Linked DNA regions of Homo sapiens: all the other regions are linked to region 1. The links are contacts of gene promoters, found by promoter capture Hi-C in blood cells and fetal thymus (Javierre and others, 2016). All regions are on one chromosome and are shown on one strand. The core of a region is centred on a gene start or on the middle of the fragment in contact, and the rest is flanking DNA. Distances in the headings are between cores, read along the strand shown. Region 1 holds the start of PGLYRP1 (peptidoglycan recognition protein 1). Region 2 overlaps LOC93429 (a long non-coding RNA gene). Region 3 overlaps LOC124904728 (a long non-coding RNA gene).

Evidence for each region. The method cuts DNA at HindIII sites, captures the fragments that hold promoters and counts their contacts. A CHiCAGO score of 5 or more calls a contact.
Region 2: a fragment that was not itself captured here is called in contact with the fragment with the promoter of PGLYRP1 in region 1 in 1 of 17 cell types (M2 macrophages); the score reaches 5.3 in M2 macrophages.
Region 3: a contact is called between a fragment that was not itself captured here and the fragment with the promoter of PGLYRP1 in region 1, in 1 of 17 cell types (endothelial precursors). The highest score is 5.0, in endothelial precursors.

Annotation. Positions count from the first base shown.
Region 1 is chr19:46,021,340-46,024,387 of GRCh38, reverse strand. It overlaps PGLYRP1 (peptidoglycan recognition protein 1), which reads left to right and starts at 1,335. Exons shown (of 3, transcript NM_005091.3): 1 at 1,335-1,653. The coding sequence starts at 1,367. RefSeq lists an enhancer at 1,842-2,727. The HindIII fragment of the contact is 5,413 bases long and covers 232-3,048 here.
Region 2 is chr19:46,212,717-46,215,765 of GRCh38, reverse strand. LOC93429 (a long non-coding RNA gene) reads right to left here. Exons shown (of 6, transcript NR_027003.1): 4 at 2,756-2,976; 5 at 2,283-2,437; 6 at 928-1,969. It also overlaps a transcript of IGFL2 not described here. Among named protein-coding and RNA genes, the nearest start is that of IGFL2-AS1, 11 kb to the right of the region's middle. The HindIII fragment of the contact is 6,207 bases long and covers 1-3,049 here.
Region 3 is chr19:46,246,591-46,249,905 of GRCh38, reverse strand. The region is part of intron 1 of LOC124904728 (a long non-coding RNA gene); the gene reads left to right. Among named protein-coding and RNA genes, the nearest start is that of IGFL1, 19 kb to the right of the region's middle. The HindIII fragment of the contact is 3,692 bases long and covers 1-3,315 here.

The sequences.
Region 1 (3,048 bases), core at 86-2,585:
GATGCCCATGAAATATTAGGTGACAAAAGGTAAATTGATGCACATGGTTTTGATTTTTTTTTTTAATGTCCTTATATAAGTTTGTAGGGAGGAGAATACGGTTTATAACTCTGCAGGCAGAAAGCCTGTAGCCAAACCCTGGCTTCATCACCTCCTGTATGTGATCATCCCCCCGGGCCTCAGTTCCGTCAACTGTAAGAGGGGTTAATAATAACATGGATCTGGCAAGCTTGTCGTTGAGTATATGATAATTTCTGAAAAGTGCTACAGATGCCTGGTGCACAATTCAGTAACAGCATGAGTACAATGTATATGAGAAGGCAGAACACAGAAGATGAAAACACACCACACAGGTCAGGCACGGTGGCTCATGCCTATAGTAATCCCAGCACTCTGGAACACTGGCAGGTGGCTCACCTGAGGTCAGGAGTTCGACACCAGCCAGGCCAACATGGCAAAACCCCGTCTCTACCAAAAATATAAAAATTAGCTGGGCGTGGTGGTGTGCACTTGTAATCCCAGCTACTCAGGAGGCTGAGGCAGGAGAATCACTTGAAGCCAGGAGGCGGAGGTTGCAGTGGCCCAAGATCGCACCATTGCACTCCAGCCTGGGTGACAAGAGCAAAACTCCATCTCAAAAAAAAAAAAAAAAAAAAAGGAAAATATTATTTATAAAATAGAAAATTAAAAAAAAAATTTTAAATACACATTTTTAAAAACCACTTGCAGGCTCTCACACACTGCATATCCAGGATTCACATGCAGGCAGCCTGGCTCTAGACGCGGGGCTCCAGTGCCTCCGGTGTCTCAGCCCGTGACTTCCCTGCTCTCAACCTCAGTTTACTCCACTGTGAAATGGACTTCCAGATACTCACCTCTTGAGTTTGCTGCAAGCGTAAATGGCATCAGGCTTGGACCTGGGGGAAGGAAGTGTTTTTAAAATGGGTAGCTTTGTTACCTCAGTCCTTGCGGGGAGAAGATGTGCCAATGCCCCGGGCCTCTGCGATGTAAGTTCCTGTTGAGTTGTTCAATGTTCCACTGAGAGGAGAGACAAGCAGGACCGGGATCCCGGCCCCGGGTCTTCCAGAAACGGCGGGGCGAAGCGCCCAGGGGCCTGTGCGTCCCTCCCTGCTGAGCGAGGGGGCCTGTCATTGCCGTGGGCGTGACCCAGACCCCAACCACAGTGCATCCCGCCCTGGCCCAGCCAGAGAAGGAAGCTGAGTCTGGGGTCTGCTGGGCCAGCAGGAAGTCCCAGCAGGGTGTGAAGCAAGACTTTCCGGGCCACTCCTGGAATCCCCCAGCAGATAAAGGCGGCCCCTCCACCGGGCGCTCCTAGCGGTCTCCCGGACCCTGCCGCCCTGCCACTATGTCCCGCCGCTCTATGCTGCTTGCCTGGGCTCTCCCCAGCCTCCTTCGACTCGGAGCGGCTCAGGAGACAGAAGACCCGGCCTGCTGCAGCCCCATAGTGCCCCGGAACGAGTGGAAGGCCCTGGCATCAGAGTGCGCCCAGCACCTGAGCCTGCCCTTACGCTATGTGGTGGTATCGCACACGGCGGGCAGCAGCTGCAACACCCCCGCCTCGTGCCAGCAGCAGGCCCGGAATGTGCAGCACTACCACATGAAGACACTGGGCTGGTGCGACGTGGGCTACAAGTGAGTGTGGCAGGGGGGCACGGGCTGGACTGGGGATCCCAGAGGCAAAGGTGTGCAAGTGCCCGCCAGCGGGACCATTTCTAGGCCTGGTGCTGAGGCCACCTGGCTGACACCCTGAGCAGCTTACTGAACCTCACAAGGTCATTTCTTCCTCGGGTCACCACGTGGGCCGGGGCAGGTGCTCACAGCACAAAGATGCGTGAGAAGGGGGGATGGGCTGAAATCCAAGCCCCGCTCCCGCTCCCGGGAAGAAGGGGCAGGCTTTGCCTAACACACACCAAGGTGTCCGCGACGCCTTATGAAGGCGCCCCTTCCTGATGCCTGGTGCCTTTGTTAGGAGGCGGAAAACCAGGCTGACTCAGTGCGGAGCTGGGTTCCAGGGTCAGCTCATCTTATTGCTGGCTGAGGCCTGGGGCGGGTCCTCCCGGCTTCAGCTTCCTCCTCGGCAAAGTCAATGGAATCGCGGCCCATCTGCTCCTTATATGAGCCAATACAGGCAAAGCACCTAGGAACTGCCTGGCACACGGGGGCCCGCAAAGCCACGGGCTATTACCATTAGGCACCTACTATGTGCCAGGCAGTGTGCCAGATGTGGCATGGAGAACGGTGCCACTCTAGCCTCCTGGGGTTGAAAGACCAGCAGGGAGAAACAAGCCAAGGCCACAGGTGAATTCAGACGGTGATAGAGGCGATGGATAAAAGGAAAGAGGTGAGGGAGGGTGACCTCAGGCTGGGACCAGACCCACACAGGCTCCTTGGAAGGGTGGGGCAAGGGAAAGCCTCCCTGAGAGTGGCTGCCTTGGCTCTGGGATGGGGGAGCAGACAGAGGCCTGCAGGTGGCAGGGGGTGCTGGGGGCAAAGCCAACGGGGTTGAGTGGGCGGGTCCTGTGGGAAGGACAGGGTGGCTGAACACAGCCGGGCGAGCGGAATGAAATGAGGAAAGGGCAGGACCAGGCAGGGCTTTGTGGACCACAGTGAGGACTGTAGCTTTTACTCCGAGATGGGAGCCATGGGAGGCTTCCCCCCGCAGAGCAGGGACCAGGGCTAGTGTAGGTACAAGAGACTCCCTCTGGCTGCTGTGGGGAGAACAGACTGTAAGGGGTGCCGGCTGAAGCAGGCTGAAGCAGGTCCGGGGCCACGCCTACCAGCTACCTCCTCCTTAGAATGGGCTGCAGTCCAGCCTGACGGTTTCCACAGGGAGGGAACTTTCAATCCTGCAGGCTCTCAGACCCAGGTAAGCATCAGAATCTCCTGCAGAGCTTATTGGAGGAACATGCAGGTCCCCAGAGACCACTTCAATAGACCCCACCCAGGGGACACATGTTCTCAGGACCTCCTAAGGCTGTGTCTCACACACACACACACACAAAACCCACCCAGAGAAGTCTAGAAGTG
Region 2 (3,049 bases), core at 478-2,977, 190 kb before region 1:
TTTTTATTTTTTTGAGATGGAGTCTCGCTCTGTCACCCAGGCTGGAGTGCAGTGGCGTGATCTCGGCTCACTGCAAGCTCTGCCTCCTGGGTTCATGCCATTCTCCTGCCTCAGCCTCCCGAGTAGCTGGGACTACAGGCACCCGCCACCACGCTGGGCTAATTTTTTGTATTTTTAGTAGAGACGGGGTTTTGCCGTGTTAGCCAGGATGGTCTCGATGTCCTGACCTTGTGATCTGCCTGCCTCGGCCTCCCAAAGTTCTGGTATTACAGGCGTGAGCCACCGTGCCTGGCCGATTTCTTCTTTTTTTTTTTACTATTAATGTTATTTTTTATGAGAGACAGCACGCCAAGTATTGCTGTAAATATTAGGATTAATTCTACTGATGTACTTCATGATCATGTATATTTTATGAAGATTTATTAGATCAAAAATTACAAGACTTAAAGTTACCACTCTTGGATTAACTGTACATTTTTAGCACTGTTTTTATCTATTGGAATATTTTCATAGCTATAGTTAGTAAAATTCACCATAATCATTAATTAGAGCCATAATTACACTTTTATAATAAATATACATTTATACTTTAACCGATGGATAAAACATCAACCTAAATATCCAAAAGGAAATTTTTAATCAAGTGACTCCTAGGAGGGTGTCTGTTCTGACGGTGGCTATTCAGGAACAAAGAGCAAATCTGAAGAAAAGGCCTGGTTCCCACTCTGGCCACACCTGTTGCCACACTGATGGGATGTGCTGATCACAGCAAGATCACAGTCAGGATAAGTGTGGGGCCAGCAATGGCCTTTCTCAAGGCACTTTGTGCTGAGGACACGTGACAGCCTGTGTGGTGTGTGTGTGTGTGTGTGCGCGCACGCGTGTGTTTGCTTCTGTTTTTCTGTGGGTAAATACATGACCCAGTAATTTCTCAAAATAATTTTATTCTTACTACATAAGATCCACTCCATCACAGCTCTTTGTGTTCTGCTTTCTTGTTTATTGGATACCTCTTCAGGCCCTGGACGGCTCATGGAGGAGACAGGGACTCTCCCCAGGTCGAAGGCCCAAGGCCTGGATGATGGGGTGGGGCCCAGGATGGGTGCCAGGGGTCTGGAGGACATGAGTGGATGAAGGCCCTGGGCTTCAGCTTCCTCTTGGTGGAATGTGGGTGATGAGGTCCGACCATGCAGCGCTGCTGTGAGGACCGGATGAGAGGATCCCTGGGAGGTGGCCGGTGACTTGGTACCGTCACCTCAGTGACTGTTCTTCATCCTCATGGATGTTCAGAGAAGACTGGTTCATTCCCTCTGGTGGCCGTCTGTCCACCAGACAGGACCGATACATCCTCTGAAAATTTCATCACTTTAGGCAATAGCACTTTCATTCTTTTCCAGTTCATCTGATGCCATTTAAATCGACCTGGTGATTCTGGGAAGCCCGGGATTCCTGTCCCTTTGAGGAGACGCCAGGTGCCATCTGTGTGCATGCGTGGCATTTGGGCGGGAACCCAGAGCCCCGACTCTGGGCTTGTTGAACTCAGGTCCAAGGAGGGATTCACTACGTTGGTGTAAGGTGCGGTCTGTGTTTCAGATTCTTGTGCCAGATGAGGTGATGCTTTGATGTCAATACCTCGCGTTGGGGGAAGGTGGAGGATCTGGACCAGTGGTGTAGGAGGCCAGGATGGGGCGGGACCCAGACACATGAGGATTCCGGGTTTCAGAAGGACGGAGCTGAGCAAGGCCACTCGGCGCACGCGCGGTGCCTTGAGCGCCTACATCCAGATGTGCATCTTCCGTGGGGCCGTCCCGGGGCGGGGTCTGAGCTGGGAGACCTGCCTCTCTCCTGCTCTCCTAGAGTCACTTAAAACTTTTTAGTTTTCCGTTTAAATGACCAAATGAGATCATTTCATGGGGTGGTGGGGGGAGTGGAGGCAGGGAGAGTCACAAACAGAAAGCGGCCAAGACAGCTGTGGGAGAGGGAAGGGGAAGATGGGGTGAGTGGACAGCCACAGATACGACTGGCACTGACATTTAGAAGAAGATTGGGTGGAACCAGGGCTCGGTATGGCTTTGGGCAGTTCAGAAACTGAAACAGGGCTGTGGATGGGGCTGACCCGGGCGCTGTGGATGGGGAATTGCTGTGAGCAATTCACGCCTGGAGATTTGGCTGGGCATGGGAACAAGAATGAGGGAACAGGGAGTTTGGGGTGGGGAGCGAGCCCTGGTGGTGGCTGAGATGGGAGATGGGTTCGGTTGGGAATGGGGTCCTCCCCTCCTTACCCAGAACACGGCTTCGGGGAGCCATTGCTCTGGGGCGGCTGCAGCGGAGTGAGCTGGTGATCAGCCGATCTCAGCCACTCCTTGTATCCCATATTCCTAGAGGAGCTGGTGATGTCACGGCATGTCTGGCCCTCCTGCAGAGACAGGCTGGGTCGCTGGGCAGTAAAGGAGCCAGGCAGGGTATGTGTCATAGTAGATTTGATCTCAGACACTTTGAGAACCCAGGGAGAAGTGGTGCACCCTCCGCTTCTGTGTCCTACATGCCCCCTCTTTGGCAAACAGGAAGGTGCAGCATGCTCCTATAGTTACCGCCCTCCCCCACTCACACAGCCACACAGTGATTCCACAGGATCCCATTGAGCTATGACTTTCTCCACTTTCCTTGGTACATTGCTAACCCCTGACATCCTCTAATCAGGTCCTAACTTCACAACCCAAGCCCATGGCCCAGGATGCAGTAACTGCTCACTCACCTGCAGCTCATGGCATTCGGGTGGGAGAGACTGTGCGACTCAGGCACCTGACTTTCACAGGTTTGGAAGGTGGGAGTGGAGCTGGCGGGACCCCTGGGACTCACACTCCTCTGGGGGCTCTTCAACTCCTTCTCTGTTTCATTAATGGTCATTTATCCAGGAGAGGTCCACTTGGAAGCCCACATGTCCCAGGCTTTGTGTCAGACACTGGTGATGCAGTGCTGAGTAGAAAATGCAAAGTCAGTGTCTTCGTGACGTTCATGACAGTGAGAGGAGAGAGAGAGAGAGAGAGAG
Region 3 (3,315 bases), core at 534-3,033, 230 kb before region 1:
TCCAGAGTCAGTCCCAAAATCCACTGTGAGCTGTTACAGCAACCAAAGAAACTCAGAGACATCATCTTGTGCCCCAATGATCATGATCCGGTGACCCCAGAAACATTGTCATTCTCCTTCTGCTCTCAGCTGATCTTTGTTTTTGAACTCCTGGGCTCAGACTCAGAAGGGACCACAGATGAGAAGGGGTGTGGTGAGCGGAGGGAGAAGAGAGGAGGGAGGATTATAGCACTGTGGATAGGGTTGGGGGCTCCCAGAGGTCCCCTGTCAGCTCATCAGCTCTGACTCTTCCAGATATTGGACTGTGGTTGTGCCAGTTGACACTCCAGAGTGGAGACCAGATCTGCAATCTCTTGGGGCTGTAATAAGGGGATCATCCTGTCCTTGAACAAGACCCAGCTCTGTGGTCCTAACTGCACTTCTGGCCCTGCTTCCAGCACTGCTGACTGGAGCCCCTGGGCTCTCAGCACCAGGCAGTAGTGAGGCTCCATGTCCCAGGAGTGAGGCCTGACTACCCCAGGAGTGTGCTCAAGTAAGGGCAGCCCAGGCGGTGGACAGAGTTTTGTTGTGTGTATTCCATCAAGGTGAGCAATGCCTGCTGTGTTCACTAGCTTCTTTTTGCGCAACCATCAATCTCTCTCTCTCTCTCTCTCCCCCTCCACTGCCCCACTCTCCTCTCTTCCCCTCCCTGTCTTTTCCCTCCTCTCCTTCCTTCTCTTCCTCTCTCAAGTTGAAAGAAGAGTAGCTCAGTCATCTTCCAGAATTGCTTTTTAGCTCCGAGTCACCTGGCTCCACAGCCCCCGACCACTGTATGCCTACTTAGCTGTTCCTCCCCTTCCCCTCTACCCTCACCCTTGGCAACTACCAGTCGGCTTTCCATCTGTATGGATTTACCTATCTGGGACATTTCATATAAATGGAATCACACCATATGTGAACTTTTGTGTCACCTTCTTTTTTTTTACTTTGTTTATTGTTTTCATTGTTACAATTTCTACAATTGTATCCCCATTGTAGAATTTATTAGTATTTCATTCCTTTTTATAACTGAATAAATTCAATTGTATCCATGTATCAGCATTCATTTATCCATTCATCTGTTGATGGACACTTGGGCTGTTGTGAATAGTGCTGTTATGAACATACATATACATGTATTTGCTTGAGAACCTGTTTTCAATTATTTTGGGGTGTACATGTAGGAGTGGAATTGCTGCGCCACATGGTAATTCTGTTTAAGTTTTTGAGGAATTGGCAAACTGTTTTCCACAGAGCCGCATCAATTACATTCCCATCAGCAGTGTATGAGGGCTCACATTTCTCTCCAGATTCTTCAACCTTTGTTATTTTCTATTTTCCTGTTTATTACAGTCATCTGGGTGGGTGCGTATGATATCCTGTGTAGTTTTAATTTGCATTTCCTTAATGAATAATGACGCTGAATATCTTTTCCATGTGCTTATTGGCCATTTGTATTCCTTTTTGAAAAAAGTTTATTCAGATTTTTTCCATGTTTTAATTGGGTTGCTTATTTTATTATTATATAGTTGTAAGAGTTTTAAAATATATTCTGGATACTCATCCCTTATCAAATACATGATTTGCAAACACTTCTCTCATTATGTGGATTGTCTTCATTTCCTTGATGCTTGCAGTGCATAGGTTTTTAATTTTTGATGAGGTCTATTCTTCCTTTTGTCTCTTGTGTTTTTGGTGTAATATCTAAGAAAATATTACCTAACTTGAGGTCATCAAGATTTACTTCCACGTTTTCTGCTAGGAATTTTTTTAGGAAATTGACAAAGAATAATTGTTTATTCACATTGGGTAAAATGTGATGATTTAATGTAGGCTTAACTTGTTGAATGATTAAATCCAGTTAATTACGCTATCTATCACCTCAGGTACTTATAATTTTTTAATTTTGTTTATTTTTTGTTTTTGTAGAGACAGGGTTTCATTGTGTTGACCAGGGTGGCTTGAAACTCCTGGCCTCAAGTGATTCTCCCCACTTGGCCTCCCAAAATGCTGGGATTACAGGCATGAGCTACAGTACCTGGCCCTAAGGATTTTTAACATACAAGATCATGTCATTTGCAAATAGAAACCATTTTACTTCATCTTGCTCAATCTGAATGCATTTTCTCTTCTTGCCTAACTTTCCTGGCTTGAACCTCCAGAGCTATGTTGAATAGAGTGGTAAGAGTGAATATACTTATCCTGTTCCTGATGTTAGGGGGAGAGCATTCAATCTTTCACAATTAAGTATGATGTTAGCTATGAGTTTATTGTAGATGCTCTTTAACAGGTTGAGGAAGCTCTCTTCTGTTCCTAGTTTGTTCTTTGTACTTTATCATGAAAGAGTGTAGATTTTGTCAAATGCTCTTTCAATATCATTTGAGAGAATTACGTGACTTCCTCTATAGTCTAGTAATATGGTATATTATATTGATTGATTTTCTTATGTTGAACCAACTGCATCCCCGGGATAAATCCCACTTGGTCATGATGTATCATTGTTTTTTTTTTTTTTTTTTTTTCGGAGTCTCGCTCTGTCACCCAGACTGGAGTGCAGTGGTACGATCTTGGCTCACTGCAATCTCCACCTCCCGGGTTCAAGCAATTCTCCTGCCTCAGCCTCCCAAGTAGCTGGGACTACAGGAGCGTGCCACCATGCCGGGCTAATTTTTTGTATTTTTAGTAGAGACGAGGTTTCACCATGTTAGCCAGGATGGTCTCGATCTCCCGACCCCGTGATCCACCCACCTTGGCCTCCCAAAGTGCTGGGATTACAGGTGTGAGCCACTGTGCCCGGCTGATATATCATTCTTTATATATGCTGCTGGATTTGGTTTGCTATATTTTGTTGAGGATTTTTGAATTTATATTCATAAGAGATGTTGGTCTGTAGTTTTTTCTTTTTAATTTCTTGTGATATCTTTGATTTTGGTGTTAGGGTAATACAGACCTCAGAGTAAATTGGAAAGTTCTGTTTGACTTTTTTGAAAAGTTTGTGAATGATTGGTATTAATTCTTCTCTAAATGTTTTGTAAATTTTACTGTCTGGGTCTGGAGGGGCATTTCCAGTATATGAGCATTCCCCTTTCTCTGCATCCTTGCCAGCATCTGTTATTCTTTGTCTTTTTGATAAAAGCCATTTTAACCGAAGTGGGACATCTCAGTGTGGTTTTGATTTGCATTTCCCTGATGATAAGTGTTGTTGAACATTTTTTCATATATCCGTTGACTATTTGTATGTCTTCCTTTAATACATGGCTATTCAGACCTCTTGCCCATTTAAAAATCAGATTCTTT